6 separate regions of the Homo sapiens genome follow, and regions 1, 3, 4, 5 and 6 are each linked to region 2. Evidence: promoter capture Hi-C in 16 types of primary human blood cells and fetal thymus (Javierre and others, 2016). All regions are on one chromosome and are shown on one strand. Each heading gives the region's core, a stretch centred on a gene start or on the middle of the fragment in contact. The rest is flanking DNA. Distances are from core to core; before and after follow the strand shown. Region 1 has its middle 20 kb from the start of MIR4786. Region 2 holds the start of HDAC4 (histone deacetylase 4). Region 3 overlaps NDUFA10 (NADH:ubiquinone oxidoreductase subunit A10). Region 4 overlaps NDUFA10 (NADH:ubiquinone oxidoreductase subunit A10). Region 5 overlaps NDUFA10 (NADH:ubiquinone oxidoreductase subunit A10). Region 6 has its middle 4.7 kb from the start of MIR4786.

The links. Contacts are between HindIII fragments. The CHiCAGO score rates a contact against its expected background, and 5 or more counts as called.
Region 1: a fragment that was not itself captured here is called in contact with the fragment with the promoter of HDAC4 in region 2 in 3 of 17 cell types (neutrophils, M0 macrophages and M1 macrophages); the score reaches 6.6 in neutrophils.
Region 3: a fragment that was not itself captured here is called in contact with the fragment with the promoter of HDAC4 in region 2 in 6 of 17 cell types (M1 macrophages, M0 macrophages, neutrophils and 3 more); the score reaches 9.6 in M1 macrophages.
Region 4: a contact is called between a fragment that was not itself captured here and the fragment with the promoter of HDAC4 in region 2, in 4 of 17 cell types (M0 macrophages, fetal thymus, M1 macrophages and 1 more). The highest score is 8.9, in M0 macrophages.
Region 5: a contact is called between a fragment that was not itself captured here and the fragment with the promoter of HDAC4 in region 2, in 9 of 17 cell types (M1 macrophages, M0 macrophages, M2 macrophages and 6 more). The highest score is 13.6, in M1 macrophages.
Region 6: a contact is called between a fragment that was not itself captured here and the fragment with the promoter of HDAC4 in region 2, in 3 of 17 cell types (neutrophils, M1 macrophages and M0 macrophages). The highest score is 6.8, in neutrophils.

What each region holds. Positions count from the first base shown.
Region 1 is chr2:239,921,286-239,923,985 of GRCh38, reverse strand. It overlaps a transcript of NDUFA10 not described here. Among named protein-coding and RNA genes, the nearest start is that of MIR4786, 20 kb to the left of the region's middle. The HindIII fragment of the contact is 2,710 bases long and covers 1-2,632 here.
Region 2 is chr2:239,399,711-239,402,410 of GRCh38, reverse strand. It overlaps HDAC4 (histone deacetylase 4), which reads left to right and starts at 1,391. Exons shown (of 27, transcript NM_001378414.1): 1 at 1,391-1,433. It overlaps HDAC4-AS1 (HDAC4 antisense RNA 1), which reads right to left and starts at 975. Exons shown (of 2, transcript NR_135575.1): 1 at 875-975; 2 at 54-336. RefSeq lists an enhancer at 183-312 and silencers at 443-712, 983-1,102, 1,123-1,562, 1,573-1,742. The HindIII fragment of the contact is 12,493 bases long and covers 1-2,700 here.
Region 3 is chr2:240,002,546-240,005,245 of GRCh38, reverse strand. It overlaps NDUFA10 (NADH:ubiquinone oxidoreductase subunit A10), which reads left to right. Exons shown (of 10, transcript NM_004544.4): 8 at 1-36. Among named protein-coding and RNA genes, the nearest start is that of NDUFA10, 21 kb to the left of the region's middle. The HindIII fragment of the contact is 5,215 bases long and covers 1-2,700 here.
Region 4 is chr2:239,965,620-239,968,319 of GRCh38, reverse strand. The region is part of intron 9 of NDUFA10 (NADH:ubiquinone oxidoreductase subunit A10); the gene reads left to right. Among named protein-coding and RNA genes, the nearest start is that of MIR4786, 24 kb to the right of the region's middle. The HindIII fragment of the contact is 8,260 bases long and covers 1-2,700 here.
Region 5 is chr2:239,983,280-239,985,979 of GRCh38, reverse strand. The region is part of intron 9 of NDUFA10 (NADH:ubiquinone oxidoreductase subunit A10); the gene reads left to right. Among named protein-coding and RNA genes, the nearest start is that of NDUFA10, 41 kb to the left of the region's middle. The HindIII fragment of the contact is 6,987 bases long and covers 1-2,700 here.
Region 6 is chr2:239,946,429-239,949,128 of GRCh38, reverse strand. It overlaps a transcript of NDUFA10 not described here. Among named protein-coding and RNA genes, the nearest start is that of MIR4786, 4.7 kb to the right of the region's middle. RefSeq lists an enhancer at 2,472-2,700. The HindIII fragment of the contact is 2,383 bases long and covers 109-2,491 here.

The DNA.
Region 1 (2,700 bases), core at 28-2,527, 520 kb before region 2:
GAAATTTATGTGTGCAGTAATGTTTGTAATATTTGCTCCTTTTAATGGCTGCAGGGTCTGTAGTAATATCACCTGTTTCATTTCCAGCATTGGTAATTTGTGTCTTCTCTCTTTTTCCTTTGTCTGTCTTGCTAGAGGTTTATTAATTTTATTGATATTTTCATGGAAACAAGTTTTTATTTTCTTGATTTCCCTTATTTTTCTGTTTTCAATTTCATTGATTTCTGCTTTTTAATTTTCTTTTTCTTTTTTTTCTTGCTCTGTGTTTATTGTGCCCTTTTTCCTAGCTTATTTGTGTAGGAATTCAGATTATCTTGGCACTTAAATTATTGATTTGGGACTCTTCCTCTTTTCTAATGTAAGCATTTAATACGCACCCCACAAATTTTGATGTGTGTGTTTTTATTTCTATTTTTTCTGTATTATTTACTTTTCTTCTAGGATATTTCTTGAACCCATGTATTATTTATAAATCTGTTGTTTAATTTTCAAGTGCTTTGAGATACTCCTGTTATCTTTTTGTTATTGATTTCTTCTTTGGTTTCCTTATGGTCAGAGAACATATTTTGTATGGTTTCAGTTTTTTTTATGAACCAGGATATGGTCTATTTGGGGAATTTTTCATAGGTATAGAATGTATATTATGCAGTTTGAAGTGCAGCAGTCTAGAATATTAGATACTTTTGTTTGATAGTGCTCAGTTTTTATGCATCTTTGCTGATTTTGTGTCTAGCAGTTGTATTGCTGAGAGAAGGGTATTGAAGTCTACAAGTTTATTTGTGGATTTGTCTATTTCTACTTTCAGTTTTTGTGTTATGTATTATGAAGCTGTGTTGCTCAGTGGCTATGTATTTTGGATTGCTGTGTCTTCTTGCATATTGACCCTTTCATCATGATGTATGTAATGGCCTCTTTTGTCCCTGGTAATTTTCTTTGCTCTGACACCTACTTTATCTGATAACATATATAGCTACTCATACTTCTCTTCTTTTAAGCCAACATCTGCCTCCATCCTTTACTTCTAATTTACCAGACTTTGATGTTCTTGAGCCCTGGCAATGCCAGTTGCTCCTTGGTTTGCAGCCTCATGGTAATCATTGTCCTTTCTACTTCGCAAAGGTGTGGTATCCGTACCCTACCATCTTACCTGCTGGCACACTGCACACCTGTGATGGGGCCGGGGATTCTTAGGGTGCTTACAGCTCCAGGATGACACCTGGGGTGGAAACCCACTTCACTCTCCCTCACAGTCTGCCTCATCAATTTTAAACCAGGTGTCCCTGGAATCATAGCTGTCATATCATGTTGGTACAGGGGCTGGGATGAGCCCAAGGACCAAGGCATTGTGGCGTAGAAAAGTCAACCTGACGGACGACAGTGGTAATGGCAATGCCCAGCCTCTGATTTTTCCCAGGTGACACCGCCTCTATCCCCTGAGAAGTCATTGTACTGTCTAGAGGAACACATGGTCACTATCCGAGAAAGACATCCATGTGTGGGAGAAAGACCTGTCTCTGTGTACCTGTCATGGAAGGTGGAGGTAGGGCATGGTCTGTGAGTGCTCCTCTCTGTCCTGGGGTCCCTGATGCCTTGGCCTGCAGCTCACTGCCTGCCTTGAGCCCCTCTGAGACTGGGTGGTGGCATTGAGGGCTCCCAGGCTGCCCAGCCATAGTCAGCAGAAAGGCAGACTGTGGGGTTGGCCAGCTGAGGTGCCTAGCTGCCTTTCAGCACAGAATCCAAGTCACCCAAAGATAACTGGCCACTCCAGAGCAGAAGTGGGTATAAAGACAAAGGGACACTCAGGACATTTAGCAGCAAGGTAGGAAAAGCTCATTTAGGGGCAACTGCTTATAATTGAGGGGAAAATGGAAGGAAGGGAGGAAGGGAGGAAGGAAGGAAACAAGCAAGGAAGGAAGGAAAGAAGGAAGGGAGGGAGGGAAGAAGGGAAGGAAGGAAAGAAGGAAGAAGGGAAGGAAGGAAAGAAGGAAGGAGGGAGGGAAGGAAAGAAGGAGGAAAGGAGGGAGGGAGGGGAGGAGGAAAGGAAAGAAGGAAGGAAGGACAGAAAAATGGAGGAAAGGAGAAAAGGAAGGAGAGAGGGAAGGAGGGAGGGAAGAGGGTCAGGAGGATGGACCTGAGCAAAGAGCCAGCAGTGTCCCGTCCCCACCCTGCCCCCAGATCTGGCTGAGCCTGGTTCCGTGAGGCCTCACCCAGAGGGAACTGGAGCTCCATCCATAGAACCTCACTAATGTCTGACCCGGCCTCATCCCGGGTCTCCTCGGCCTGGCCTTACAAGGGGATTGTAAAATGCGCCAATCAGTGCTCTGTAGTAGCAAGAGGTTTGTAAAATGCACCAATCAGTGCTCTGTAAAAACACACCAATCAGTGCCCTGTAGCTAGCAAGAGGTTTGTAAAATGGATCAATCAGCGCTCTGTAAAATGGACCAATCATTGCTCTGTAAAATGGACCAATCAGCAGGGATCCTAAAAGTAACCAATCACGGGGAAGATTGAAAAAAGGGCACTCTGATAGGACAGAAATGGAACATGGGCAGGGACAAATAAGGGAATAAAAGCTGACCACCCAAACCAGTAGCTGCAACCTGCTTGGGTTCCTTTCCACGCTGTAGAAGCTTTGTTCTTTCCTTCTCCACTCTTTGGGTCAGTGCCACCTTTAAGAGCTATAACACTCATGGCAAAGGT
Region 2 (2,700 bases), core at 142-2,641:
CATTTCTTGCAATGACCAAAGTTTTCTAATTATTAATGAGATATTTAAGGAAATGTAAAATTGGCATTTTTATTTTGCTAACTGTATTTTTATCCACATAACTAGTTTCCCCCACCAAGAATCACAGGTCGAGAATGCTGTAAAAACGGATCCTTTCTCAGCTCCTAAAAGGAATGGCCTACAATCGAAGCGAACGCGCATCTCCGCCAGGTCCGCAACCACAGGCCCACGCCGTCGGGCCCCACGAACCGGCGCGCGCTGTCAAAGGCGCTTCCTCCCTGGAACGCGGGATTCCGGGGACAGTGTGTGCACTCAAGTTGAAAAGTTGTCATACTCCTGTTGGAAAGAAACGGAAACATCACCACCAGGAGGGTGGCCACTGAAGACCCTCGCCGACACCTGCTGGCAACCAAAGGCGCTTCCGGGGATCTACGGGCCGACCTGTAACTCAACACAAGCCTCCCAAGCCCTGCGGCCTTAAAACAACGCCCACCCGGGCGGTGCGCCGTTCCCGCCACCTCCACGCCTGCCTGGACCCGGACTCGAGACCCTGGCGGCGGGCCGGGCTCCCTCCGCCTGAGCAGGGACGCGGCGAGCGCATCCCACGACCCTCGGCAGCCGTTGCAGGCCTGGCGGACCTACACCCCACACCCTCACGGCCGCGTTCCCGCCGCGGGGCAGGGCGAGGCCCACGGCGCCTGCGCACTCAGTGACCGGGCCGCCCTGCGCCTCCGTGCGCACGCAGCACCACGTGACCCACTGCCAGTATCCAAGATGGACGCCGCGGCGAGGCCTGGCCGGCTCCCCGCGTTAGCCTGCACCCCATTGTGTGCCCTCTAAGCGCGAATTAGGCTCGCAGACATGCGGTGCTGACCGCTAGGCAGCCATGCGGGCTACCGAGTGCGACCGGACACGGCCGGGGCCCGTGTTTACGGCCACTACTGGCCCCCGGTCCCTGCGCCTCCTCAACCGCGAAGCACCCAGCGGCTGGCGCCTGGAGCGTCTTTTGGTACGCCCCACCCTCTAGAATTGGCAGCTCCAGCAGCCAATGAGGTCCAGGACGCGTGCGGGGAGGCGGGCAGGGGTGGAGCCTCTCTGCCGCTCATAGGGCATCCGGCCCCGCGGTTGAGCAGCCGCTGGGCGAGGGGTGGGAGCAGACGGGCTGTGCGCAGGTTTCAGCGGGCCAATGGAAGGCCGGCCAGGCGCCCGGGGCGGGCGGGCGGGAGGCGGGGCCGAGCCGTAATTGACGAGCTCTTCATTAGAAACCAGGCGGGAGGGCGGGGCCCGCAAGGGGAGGTGACGCAAGGCTGCCGCAGCCAATGGTTGGCGAGCCGCCGGCTGGCTGGGCGGGGCCGGGCCGGCTGACGGGCGTGCGGGGTGGCCTATCGCCGCCTGGCTCGACGCTGGAGTGGGGAGAAGCATCATGGTTCAACGTGGGTCAATTTTTTGTGAATGAGGAGGGGAGGTTGTGGGGCCGCCGCCGCGGAGCACCGTCCCCGCCGCCGCCCGAGCCCGAGCCCGAGCCCGCGCACCCGCCCGCGCCGCCGCCGCCGCCGCCCGAACAGCCTCCCAGCCTGGGCCCCCGGCGGCGCCGTGGCCGCGTCCCGGCTGTCGCCGCCCGAGCCCGAGCCCGCGCGCCGGCGGGTGGCGGCGCAGGCTGAGGAGATGCGGCGCGGAGCGCCGGAGCAGGGCTAGAGCCGGCCGCCGCCGCCCGCCGCGGTAAGCGCAGCCCCGGCCCGGCGCCCGCGGGCCATTGTCCGCCGCCCGCCCCGCGCCCCGCGCAGCCTGCAGGCCTTGGAGCCCGCGGCAGGTGGACGCCGCCGGTCCACACCCGCCCCGCGCGCGGCCGTGGGAGGCGGGGGCCAGCGCTGGCCGCGCGCCGTGGGACCCGCCGGTCCCCAGGGCCGCCCGGCCCCTTCTGGACCTTTCCACCCGCGCCGCGAGGCGGCTTCGCCCGCCGGGGCGGGGGCGCGGGGGTGGGCACGGCAGGCAGCGGCGCCGTCTCCCGGTGCGGGGCCCGCGCCCCCCGAGCAGGTGGGCTCCGGGCCGCCGGGAGTGAGGGCGGGGGCGGGCGGGCGCCGGGGCCGGCCGGGCGCCGTTTATGTAACTTTGTCAAATGCTGTGAGTTTGCAGAAAAACGTCCCTGCCGGGGGTCCGCGGCCCCGCGCTTGTCGTCGCCGCTGCGAGCGCCCGGGGGGTCGCGGGAGGGCGGGGGGCTGCCCGGGACCCGCTCGGCTCAGCCCGCAGGGCGCCAGCAGGCCGAGACGGGGCCCGGTCCCGCTCGGGGGTGGGATCCGCGTTTGCCGGCGTTGCGAAAACACACCACGGAATCATAAGCAAATTATCTCGTATTTACATTGAGCGTTGAATTATTTGACACTGTTATAGGAGGAGACCGTGCGTATCAGTTGGAAAGGCCGGGGGTGGAACCCAGTGTACTCATTTAATGCACATCAAAAATTTGTAATAACTTGAGGCAGCTGATATGAGTGTTTTCTTTATTGCATGTTGTAAATTGACCTGCTGTGACACAGTTTTCAAATAAAGCGTTGCAGAAATTAAACTTAAGTTATTTTAAAACTAATGACTTTCTTCACTAAATCCTAATTGCATGACTGTAGAGACCTACCTAATTGCTTGCTGAGAGCAGTTCTGCTTGCTCTCCGTGAGGGAGGAAAGGGCCTGTGCAGTCACTTTGCC
Region 3 (2,700 bases), core at 112-2,611, 600 kb before region 2:
GCAGGACAATCGCACTTTATACCACCTGCGATTACTGTAAGTGCATCTGTGTGGGGGCTGCTGCATGTCTGGGGTCTACTTGCATGATGGGGAAACTTAGGGAAGTTTGAAATAATTATGTTTCAAGTTAGGTGTTAGCAGCACCAACCCAATACTTAGAGGTATTTTTTCTTCCAAACAGCTCCTGAATCCCCTGGTCTGATACTTAATTTATTGAGTGCCATTATTAATTTAACAGGCATTTTGCTTCCACTATGTGCAACACCGTTCCAGATTTAAGAGATATAGTGTCAGATAAAATTCTTGATGTCTTTGAAAATGTGTTTTAGTAGGTGAGACAGAGTAAACAAATAGATAAAACTGCGTCAGGTCACAAAGGCCAGGGAGAGAAGTAACCCTGAGTAACAGGGTGGTGAGTAGCTAGGGGTGACAAAGGGCCTCTCTCGGGATGAGGCCTAAGTGAGGCCAGGATTGGGTCCTGTGGGCCGTGGGGTGAGCAGAGGGCAGGGGCTTGGCAGGTGCAGAGGCTCTTCAGGCAGGAGTGTGGTGGGAAGGTGCGCCCAGCAGCCAAGCCAGTGTGGCCAGAAAAAGTGTGGGGAGGGGAGGCCACAGCGGAATGGAGCAGGACTAGGAGAGGAGGCCATGGCGGAATGGGGCAGGACTAGGAGGGGAGGCCGCGGTGGAAGAGGGCAGGACTAGGAAGGGAGGCCACTGCAGAAGGGGGTAGGACTAGGAGGGGAGGCCACAGCAGAAGGCGGATAGGTCTTGGTGCGTTTGGTGGGTTTTCTTCTGATGAGATGAGATGCCGTTTGGGGGTTTGAAGCAGAGGAGTAATACGATATGACTTATATCCATTCAGCTATTGTGTGGATTCTTTGGTATCTATTAAATGAAAAACAAAAACCATACCGATTAGGTAAGGTTGAAAAAAGCTGTCTTCATCTGCACCACTCTATTGAAACTGCTCCTGCCAAGGAGACGGCCTCGCCATTCCAGATGCGGCAGACCCTTGTCTGTCTTCATGCTGCTCCCTGGCCCTGGAAGCAGCACCGCTGCCCCTCTTCTCCACTCCCTTCTCCTGGTTCCATGCCCTCCTCCTCCCCCACTCTCTCACTCCTCCACCAGCTGCTGCCTTCTGGGGCCGGGCTCTCTTTTTCTGGTTCCTTCTGCCTGCTGCTGGGCTCTGGCAGGCACAGTGACCCCGGGCAGTGTCTCGTCCGTTGAATTCAGTTTCTTGAGGACGTACCTAGTCACACAGCTGTGGATAGCGTGGATACCACCGTAGGTCTTGGCCCAGACCTTTACCCTGCACACCCAGCAAATATCCCTCGGCTGCCTCTTGCAGTGTCTCTGTGCATTGACCTTCCCACCGGTGATCCCCAGCTCTGCCTCTTCTGTCCTGGCTGGTGCTGGCCACCCGGGAATCTCATCCTGCTTGGGTCTGTCCTCCACCACCCACCCCCTGCTGCTTCTCATCACTGCAACGCCCAGTTCCTGGTACAGGCCTCATATCCAGCGTGCACTCAGGAGATGTATCTGGAGTGAGTGACTTTGATTTCTTTTAGGGCTATAAATTCTACAAAATTCAGAGATGATTTTGTAATGAGAAGTGCTGTTGTATCATAATTCTGATTATTTATAAATCAAGATTGGAGTAATTTGAGGGTCTTTGACTTGTGAAAATGCAGGAAACATGAGTAGCTATTTGGGGATCTGCCTTTTGTGTTAAGTCTCGAGCCCTTGGCCTGAGCCTGCCCTGTGCTGCTTCCTGCCTCTACCCAGGATGCTCTGTGCAGACTGCACCAACACTTTGCCTCTCGAGGGCCTGGAGGCACAAGGATGGCCGGGGCACTCAACTTCCCTCTCCTCAACGTTTGGATGTAAATTAGGAAGTTGGTGCCTACAGATGGCAGCTCTGTTCTTGGCCCTGTGATGTTGGTGTTCTTAGGCCGTTGGTGCTTACCTTCTTTCTCTGCCTGATGGGATGTGAGTGATACAGTAGTCTCCTAGGATGACCAGAGGGACAGCTGGCTCACTGCACATGTCACTAAAAGTTCACTGATCAAAATGTAAACAGAATGTGTAATAAGTTTACTTCTGGCCAGGCAGCGTTCACGTCTGTAAACCCAGCACGTTGGGAAGCTCAAGTGGGAGGATTGCTGGAGCCCCGGAGTTCGAGACCAGCCTGGGCAATATAGTGAGACCCCATCTCTACAAAAAATTTAAAAATTATCTGGGTATGGTGGTGCATGCCTATAGTTTCAGCTACTTGGGAGGTTAAGGTGGGAGGGTCACTTGAACCTGGGAGGTTGAGGCTGCAATGAGCTGTGTTCACGCCACGGTACTCCAGCTTGGGCGACAGAGACTCTGTCTCTCAAAAGAAGTTCACTTCTGTTTGATGTTTTTAGTACAGCATTAATAAGCAAAAAATAGGTTTACATTAAAAAAAACTAGTCATTCTACTTAGTTTGTTAATTCCTGCCCCCCTGTTAAAATAGTATTTGCAAAATCAGTTTTCTAGTTAGTGGAATGGATACTGAAGGGTGAGCAAGGTAGGCACACTGTGGGGTCCTCATGTCAGACTGAGGAGACGGGAAGGGTCAGGTCAGCCCTTAGCTGGCTGTGTGACTTGGGACAAGTCACTTTATCTGCCTGTGCCTCCATATGTAAGATTATGGCAGTGAGGTAGAGTGCTAGGCC
Region 4 (2,700 bases), core at 193-2,692, 570 kb before region 2:
CGGAGGCCGTGCTCTGCGCATTGCGTGCATTTGCTGCCTCCTCCCTCCTCCTGAATGGCCACCTCTTCCCTGCTGATCCGCATGCTGTCTGCACCTGAAGCCTCTCTCCGTGTTGGTCAGGTAGGATTTCTCCACCCTTTTCGCCCTCCATCACCTTCCATCTTCTACTTTGGGCTTCTCCCACATTCCAACTCATTTCTAGGTTTTTCTAGCCAGAGAAGAGAGGACTGGCTTCGTTCATCTCTCTCAAAGTAGTTAGGACACAGCGTTTCACCAGTAGAAGGAGTTTCCTCCATTAGAATGAGTGACTGTGTGTGTGTGTGTGTGTGTGTGTGTGTGTATATTTTTTTCCTTGACTGATTTCTGTGCGAACAGCTGGCATTTGAAGCACTATATAGGGCATGTCTAAATTGTGCACCCAAGAGAAGAGCCTGGGAGAAACCTCATTGTGCGGCCTTGGCCCTCATGGCACAGATCCCAGGTTGGCTGTAGCATTTAGAAGTGGACACTTTTCTAACATCAGAACTCATCCAGTCCTTACGTTGAATCACACAAACTCAGTGGCGTCACTTTGGATCAAAGAACAGCACGTTTCAGCTGCCTCTGCGACCTCACCTGGAGCTGGAGAATCACCCTGTTCCCCGCTGTTGCCAGGCGCAGGACCTGGCACCTGTAGGCACTTAGCCGGCACAGGACCTCGTACCTGTGGGCACTTAGGAAGTAATTGTGGGCTAAGTGAACTTAAACCACGTCGTGGACTCAGCTTTACTGTCTTGTTGTTACCTTCCTGTACTTTCTTAGGCCAGTGATCAGCAAAGGTTTCCTTTAAAGAGCCAGAGAGTAAAGGTTCCCAGCTCTGCGGGCCACACAGCCTCTCACAGCCGCTCAGCTCTGTGCTGTGTGAAAGCACCACCAGCCAGTGTGTAAATGCATGGGCCAGGTTGTGCCAGTGAGGCCTCATTTACAGAAGCAGTCAGCGGCGAGATTTGATCTGTGGGCTACAGTTTGCCGACCCATGCATGAGGCAGTAAAAGGCCAAGAGCCTGGTATAAATTCATAACGAGAAACCAAGGCTCTGAATCAGCCCCGAAGTGTAAGCAGCAGCATAATGATCTGGAGCAGCATCTTGGCGTTATTAAATTCAACCCATTCCGATGGCTGCGTCAGCATCTATTGCTCTGTTTATTGTTTTTCCTTAAGCAAGCAGTTCCATTTCTAGAAATTTATCTCAAGCACATAAATCTAGAGGGGGCACATCGGTGTTATTTATGACGGGAAAACTGGGAACAGACACAGCCCTAGGCTGGAAGAGGCACAGAGTGATGTACAGCATGGGCCAGTGGTTAGGAGCAGACTCAGGAGCCAGGGGACACGGCTCCAATTCTAGCTCTGTGAACACACTGGCCGTGTGCCACCCTCAGCAAGTTACTTAATCTCTCTCTCTTAGGGAAAAAAAAAAAAAAAAAAAAAAGAAATCCTTGCACATGCTGTAAAATTCAAAAGATGAGAGATGTTCCTTCTTTGTTCCCCAGCCGCCCAGGGCCCCTCCCTCAGGCAGCCTGGTTCAGGTTTCTTTGTAGCCTTCCGGTTGGTGGGGGAGAGGGTAGCACCTGTGTGTGTGTGCCATTCACCCTCTTAACTGTGAGGGTCAGGAAAATCATCATGTTAGTTTACATTAAGCATGGACTTCTGACACACAGATTTGCACACAGATATTTGGGGGAAATCACGAGTGGGTTTGATGAGCGTGTCCAATACTGTCTCTTCTCCAGTCTTTCCTGTATATGAATCAGGATGCACGGGTGGGAACAAGTCCGGTCCTGTGGGGTTTTCCGGGAGAAGAAAGTACAGATCCACATTCCCAAACAGGCTGGGCCACATCCCCAAGCAGGCTGGGCTGCAGTGTGCACACCCTCATGTGTCATTTTGTATCTGCTAGTACAAATGTGCACACCCTCTGCAGCCTGGAATGGAAGCCCACCCTGCTCATCCTCCATGTCTGGGCTCCATCGGGGGCCAGGGGGAGTTGTCATTTCCAGCCCAGCCCCCTGTGACCAGCAGCCCTTAGGGAAAGGAACTTGGTTTGTACACTGAGTCAGCCCAGGTTGTCGGTGACTGGGCAGGGTGCCTCCCAGTGCACTGTCTAAAATCCCTTCCCAGCTCCAGGCCTCGCCCTGGAACACTCCCGGTGGGCCACCAGGGACTGACACACGCCAGGGTCATGGGTGGAGGGCAGCTTAGCTGCTTGGCTCTGGAAGAGGACTTGGAATGTTTGGCTTTGTAATTTATTGAGGTTTTTTTTCCCTTCAGTAAACTTCCTTTTTGATTTCTAATGGAAAATGGAATACAGGGAAAGAGCCTCCTGAAAGTGTTAAACTTATCAGAGCCCTGTGAATGTAATGAGTCCAAAATGCCTTGAATTTAGAGATCCAGCGAGGGAAACTCCGTTCGCATTGTACAGTAGAGGGGATTGCAGAGGATGAGCATTGGAGGGGTTTGTTCCTTTTTCTGTTAGGCGCTCTTTCTTCTTTTGCTCCTTAAGGATTCTTGGTTTGCTCACCCGGTGTATACTCGGCAGAAGCCCTGACTTCTGACAGGAGGAAAATGATTTTCTTTTCATTTTAAAGTGGGTGTACGGCCTTGATAGTTCACCTGAGATAGTTCACCGCATGCCCTTTGCATCTCAACCTTTGGACGCAC
Region 5 (2,700 bases), core at 50-2,549, 580 kb before region 2:
CATAACACTCTTTGAGCCTTTGGCTGGTGTTCATTGTCTGTAGCACTTTTTTTTTTTTTTTTTTTTTTGAGACAGAATCTCACTCTTGTCACCCAGGCTGGAGTGCAGTGGTGTGATCTCAGCTCATTGCAACCTCTGCCTCCCAGGTTCAAGCGATTCTGCTGCCTCAGCCTCCCGAGTAGTTGGGACTACAGGCATGCGCCACCATGCCCAGCTAATTTTTTGTATTTTTAGTAGAGACAAGTTTTCACCATGTTGGCCAGGCTAGTCTCAAACTCCTGATCTCAGGTGATCTGCCTGCCTTGGCCTCCCAAAGTGTGTCTGTATCGCTCTTGCCACATTTTCTGTCTGCCTTGGCGTCCCACAGTGTGTCTGTATTACTCTTGCCATATTTTCTCTCTGCTCTCTTTCGGTTCCAGTTGGTCATATGTTGGACCTTTTCACCATGCACCATATTCTTCGTGTGTCTGCTCCTTTCTGTATATCTTGTCTTTTTTTTTTTTTTGAGTGTGCATCAGCCTAGATGTGTTCTTCTAAACTGCCTTTCAAGTTACTAATCATCCTTTCAGCTCGTTCTAATCTGTTGTTAGACCTGTATTTCTTATATTTGAGTTTTGAATTTTCATCCTGGTTTGTTTTTGATTCTAGAGTTTTCATTGTTATAATTTCAAGTTTACTGCTGATATTATTTTGTCATCTAATTTCTTAAACATATTCATCACAAAGTTACACAGAATTATCTGATAATTGCAGTATCTGTGTCTTTTGTAGGCCTGTGTGAGTGGTCTGGTCCCTAACGTTTGGTTTGGGGTTGTTTAATCTTGGCGTTTGGTGGCCTCATCATTGGTGTTTTGTTGTTTTCCAATGGCAGTCATTTTTTGTGGAGACTTTGCCTGGAGTCATCTCACCCTGGAGAGGATGCGCTTTACCGTCTTCTGGCAGGCATGGAGGTCAGGGCAGGTCCCCTGAGAGCGCTCAGGAAGCAAGCTGGTGACGCTGGGCTTCCGTTTTGTGAGGTCTGGAGTGTTTCTAGCTTGCGCTTACTGAGAGGCCATTTTTGCCAGGGTCCCTTCTTTTTGTTGGGTCCTGAACTGCATGTTTGGCCCCACAGTGCACTCCTGCTGCTGAAAGCTCTGCCGGGCTTCTCAGCCCCCCGGCTCTGCTGGTGGGACCAGGGAGCGCCTCAGGGACGGGAACGTGCAGCCCAGCTGTGTTTGCTTCTTCTCTGGACCTTGGCATCCAGGGCCCTCCCTGCCCTGTTGCCTTTACAGCCTGATGTTGCCTTTGTAGAATTCTTTTCTACATTGTCCCCTGTTTGGTTGTTCAGGAGGGGACAGATGTGTTAGCCGTTTTAACAGTTACATGGTGAGCTCACCTAGCAGTTTTTCAATCACTGTGTTTTATGTGGTTTTGTCTGCTTTTCAGTTTGTGAGCATTAAAGAGAATCTAAGAGAATATATGATATTGGGCTTGTGGTTTGAATTAAATGTTTAGAAATGTTAAAATTTTGAATCGTATTTAAATGACTGGGAAAATCCGATTTTTAAATTTCTAAGCATTTCAAAAAGTAAACTTGAATGTTTAGAACAGTTTTAGATTTACAGAAAAACCGTGACGGTAGTAGTGAGCTCTCATATCTCACATCCAGTTTCCATTTTATTAACTTCTTCTGTGAGTATGGTACACTTGTTATAATTAATGAATTAATAATACTTACTGGGTTTTTGTTTTTTGTTTTTTTTTTTTGGAAACCGATTGTCACTCTATCGCCCAGGCTGGAGTGCAATGGCATGATCTTGACTCACTGTAACCTCCACCTCCCGGGTTTAAGCGATTCTTGTGCCTCAGCCTCCTAAGTAGCTGGTATTATAGGTGCCTGCTACCATGCCCAGCTAATTTTTGTATTTTTAGTAGAGATGGGGTTGCACCATCATGGCCAGGCTGGTCTCAAACTCCTGACCTCAAGTGATCTGGCCACCTCAGCCTCCCAAAGTGCTGGGATTACAGGTGTGAGCCACCAAATTCGGCCCTTATTGTTAACTAAAGCCCACACTTTGAATTATTCAGATTACCTTAGTTTTTCCCTAATGTCCTTTTTCTGTTCCAATACCCCGTCTAGAATATCACATGACATTGGGTCCTCATGTCTCCTTAGGTACCTCTTGGTTGTAACATTTTCTCAGACTTTGTTTTTAATAAGGAGTGCTGGTGAGGTATTTTGTAGACTCTCCCTCAGTTGAGGGTTGCCCGATGTTTCTCTAGCGATTAGATTGGACTGTGTGTTTTGGGGAGGAATCCACAGAGGTGAAGCATCAGGGGCACTTGCTGTCAGTGCAGCCTGGCACCGTGGCCCTGACCGTGGGCTCCTGGCTGAGGTCGTGCTTGCTGGGTCTCCACTGGAAGCTGCTCTTCCTCTTTCCAGAAAGCCCCATGCACACCACAGCCTTTATGTTCCTTTGTTGAGTAAGAATTGTCTGACTGTTTAGAGGATTTTGTTTAAGGAAATTCGGTTGCTTGATATTAAAAAATGATCAGTTGAAATTAAATAGTAATAAATAATAATGACCATTTCTGGAAATTCATAGAATTCCTTTTGTCCATCAGAGACATCAGCAGCAGTTCTCATTGCATTTCCTTCTGGAAACAGCATTGTGGGGATACCTGGAGGTGAATGAACAAAGCCCCTCTGGGTTTCATGTG
Region 6 (2,700 bases), core at 51-2,550, 550 kb before region 2:
ACACTATCCTGGTCATAATGAGCTCTCATACGTCCGTCCCAAAGAGGGACATGTGTCCATTGCATTCGTGGGGTTAAAGCAATGAGAAAGCCTGCAAGGCAGGAAGCTTGGGGTTGGGGGCTCCAGGGGAGCAAGGAAGGGTTGGGGGCTCCAGGGGCAGAAGGGGGTGCCCTGTGACTTCTGAGACACTGCATTTGAAGTAGAGAGCCTTCTCTTCTGGACTCCTGCACGCTTTATCTTTGTGTGAACTGTTCCCTGCAAAATAAATACACAGGCCTCTGCTGGCTCCTGCCTAGGCCAGGATGGCTCGAGGCTTGGTGAAGTCCCCAAGGAGGGAGGGCCACCTCGGCTGGCTCTAGTTTTTTCTGTCCCAGACACTGGAGGCCTGGATTTGTGGAAGATGAAGGGACATACTGAGTTGCGTCGTCAGGCTGGCATCTGAGCCACCTTTGCAATCCCTAGTTTGTCCTTGTATTTGGAACGCTGGAGGCTCGAGTCAGGATCCGGGTCCCACCGACGTGTATTTGTGCTTTCAAGATGGCTGGGGCTTTTAGCCTTGGCAGCTTTGCTCGGGCAGGCCTGCTGCTTTTTACATTGGGTTTTCCAGCGACTCCACTTACAGCTGCAAAATGGACAGTGGGCTGTAGACCCTGAACAACGTCAAGTGAGTGCATGTTTTGAACGCCTGTTACTTTTCCGTCGCCACTCATGGAGCGGAGGCTGTGGAGATGTCGGTTACTTTCTGTCCCCTGGGGGCTCAGGACCCAGCTGCAGAGCAGCCTTGAATGAGACCACAGGGAGCCTCTGAACAGGGCCTTGAGGGGCCAAAGGGAGAAGAGCAGCCTGGAGGCCATTGTCCGGAGCACAGCCTGGCTTCGTCTCTGGAATGCGTGGCTGAGGCTGGGAAGAGGGACGGACGTGTGGGCAGGGCCCAGGAGGTTCTAGCTCTTAAGTGTTGGTGGAAATGAGCTGCTATTTCCCTAAGAATTGTACACAATCCTGAACCTTGCTGCCGTTAACTGAACCTCTGGACTTTTGCTCAAACAGCTGTAGTGACGACAGAGCTTGTCCCCCGACCTCACCTCCTCCACCTCACCACCAGAGGATGTAAATTGGCTAACTTGGCCTCGGAAGACCAGCTTGAAGGGCAGGGCCACCTATGCACATGTGACCTCCATGTTCACCCAGTGCCCACGCTCAAGAAGGGCCCACACTTGATTTAATGTTCAGCTGTGGCCGTCCTGAAAGTCTGAACAAGTTTTGGACCAGAGCCTCCCGTTTTCATCTTGCACTGGGGGCCACAGGTTATGTCGCTGCCGTGGGCGTGTTGAGGCACCACCCCGTGCTTCCTGGAGCCCTCATCCCTCTTGCCATCTGGCAACAAGAGCTGGGCTGGCCTGTTGCATAGTCTTTGAGGCCTTCAGTGGATGGAGGAGCTCACGGCAGCAGGAAGGCCGGTGTGTGAGAGGAGCCCCGGGAGGACCCTCACAGGACCCTGGGCCTGGAGGCCTGGGGCTCGGCGGGGAGGGCGGGGCTTGCTCTGGGCCTCAGAGAGTCAGGAGCCGTCCCTGTCTGTGTCTGGTGCGCAGAGAGGGCGGGGCTTACTGGGCCCTGGTGAGGCAGGGACTGTCCCTGTCTGTATCTGGTAGCAGCTGCCTCCCGGTCTTTGTCCAGCTTCTTCCTTAGGCCGAGCATTTGGCTGTGGCTGCAGGAAGCCCAGCGGGGCGTGCAGAAGGCAGGCACACAGGACAGTCACTGAGCCATTTTCCTCTGTGGGCCTCAGGAGCTCTGTCCCTGGGGGCTCTGGGAGTTGGTGTGGGATGTAGGCCTTAGGCACCTGCATTGGTATAGGGCTGTCCTGGTATGACTTCTTGGTATTCCCAGGCTCGGATGCCTGCTGCCAGATAATGTCCAGGGCCTTGGTCTAAGCAGTGTGAGCAGGCGGGACGGCCCCAGATGGCCTGGCCTAGGCCTCCAGGGATTCTGTACCCATGAGGAAGGGGCTGCACTGCAGCCTGGATCCCAGCTCCTTACCCAGGATCCCACCCACACTACCTGCTGAGCACCGGGCTTCAGGACTGAGGAGTCCCATGGGAGGCACAGCACCCACCACCATGGGCTGGGCATCCGTCTCCTGGACACTGCCCTGGCACTTCACGCAGGGTTCCCTCCTTCCGCCAACCCTGTGAGGCCGTGGCCTTATCCTCATTTCACCAAAGGCGGCCTGAGGTTCAGAGAAGTTAGGCAGGACATCAAAGACACACAGCAGGCATTTCCAGCATGGGGCCCTCTGGCCCCAGAGCTTGTGCTTGTAGCCTTCTCTCTGCCTGCAGGAGCCTCACTCTGACTTTCCCCAAAATCTGACCAAAGGGAGTGAGTGCATTTAGCACACCTGGGCACACATCCATGTCAGGCGTGCCTGACAAAACCTCGGTCCTGCCTCCTTCAGGGAGGTCCTGCACCAGCGTCAGGAGCCGTTGAACTCAAAGCTTTAATGTGGACAACAAAGGGATTCATCGAGATGAGCTGGAGCTGGGCTGGAGAAGGTGTAGCGTCCGTGAGTGTTGACCTGGATACCTGAACGGTGTGGGGGTGTTTGTGATTGCAGTGAGCCCTTGGGCTTGAGACTCACTCCGTGGCTCTGAGCGCAGTGCCTGCGGGGAGGGCCCCGGAGGCATCACTGAGGGGTTTGCAGGCCCA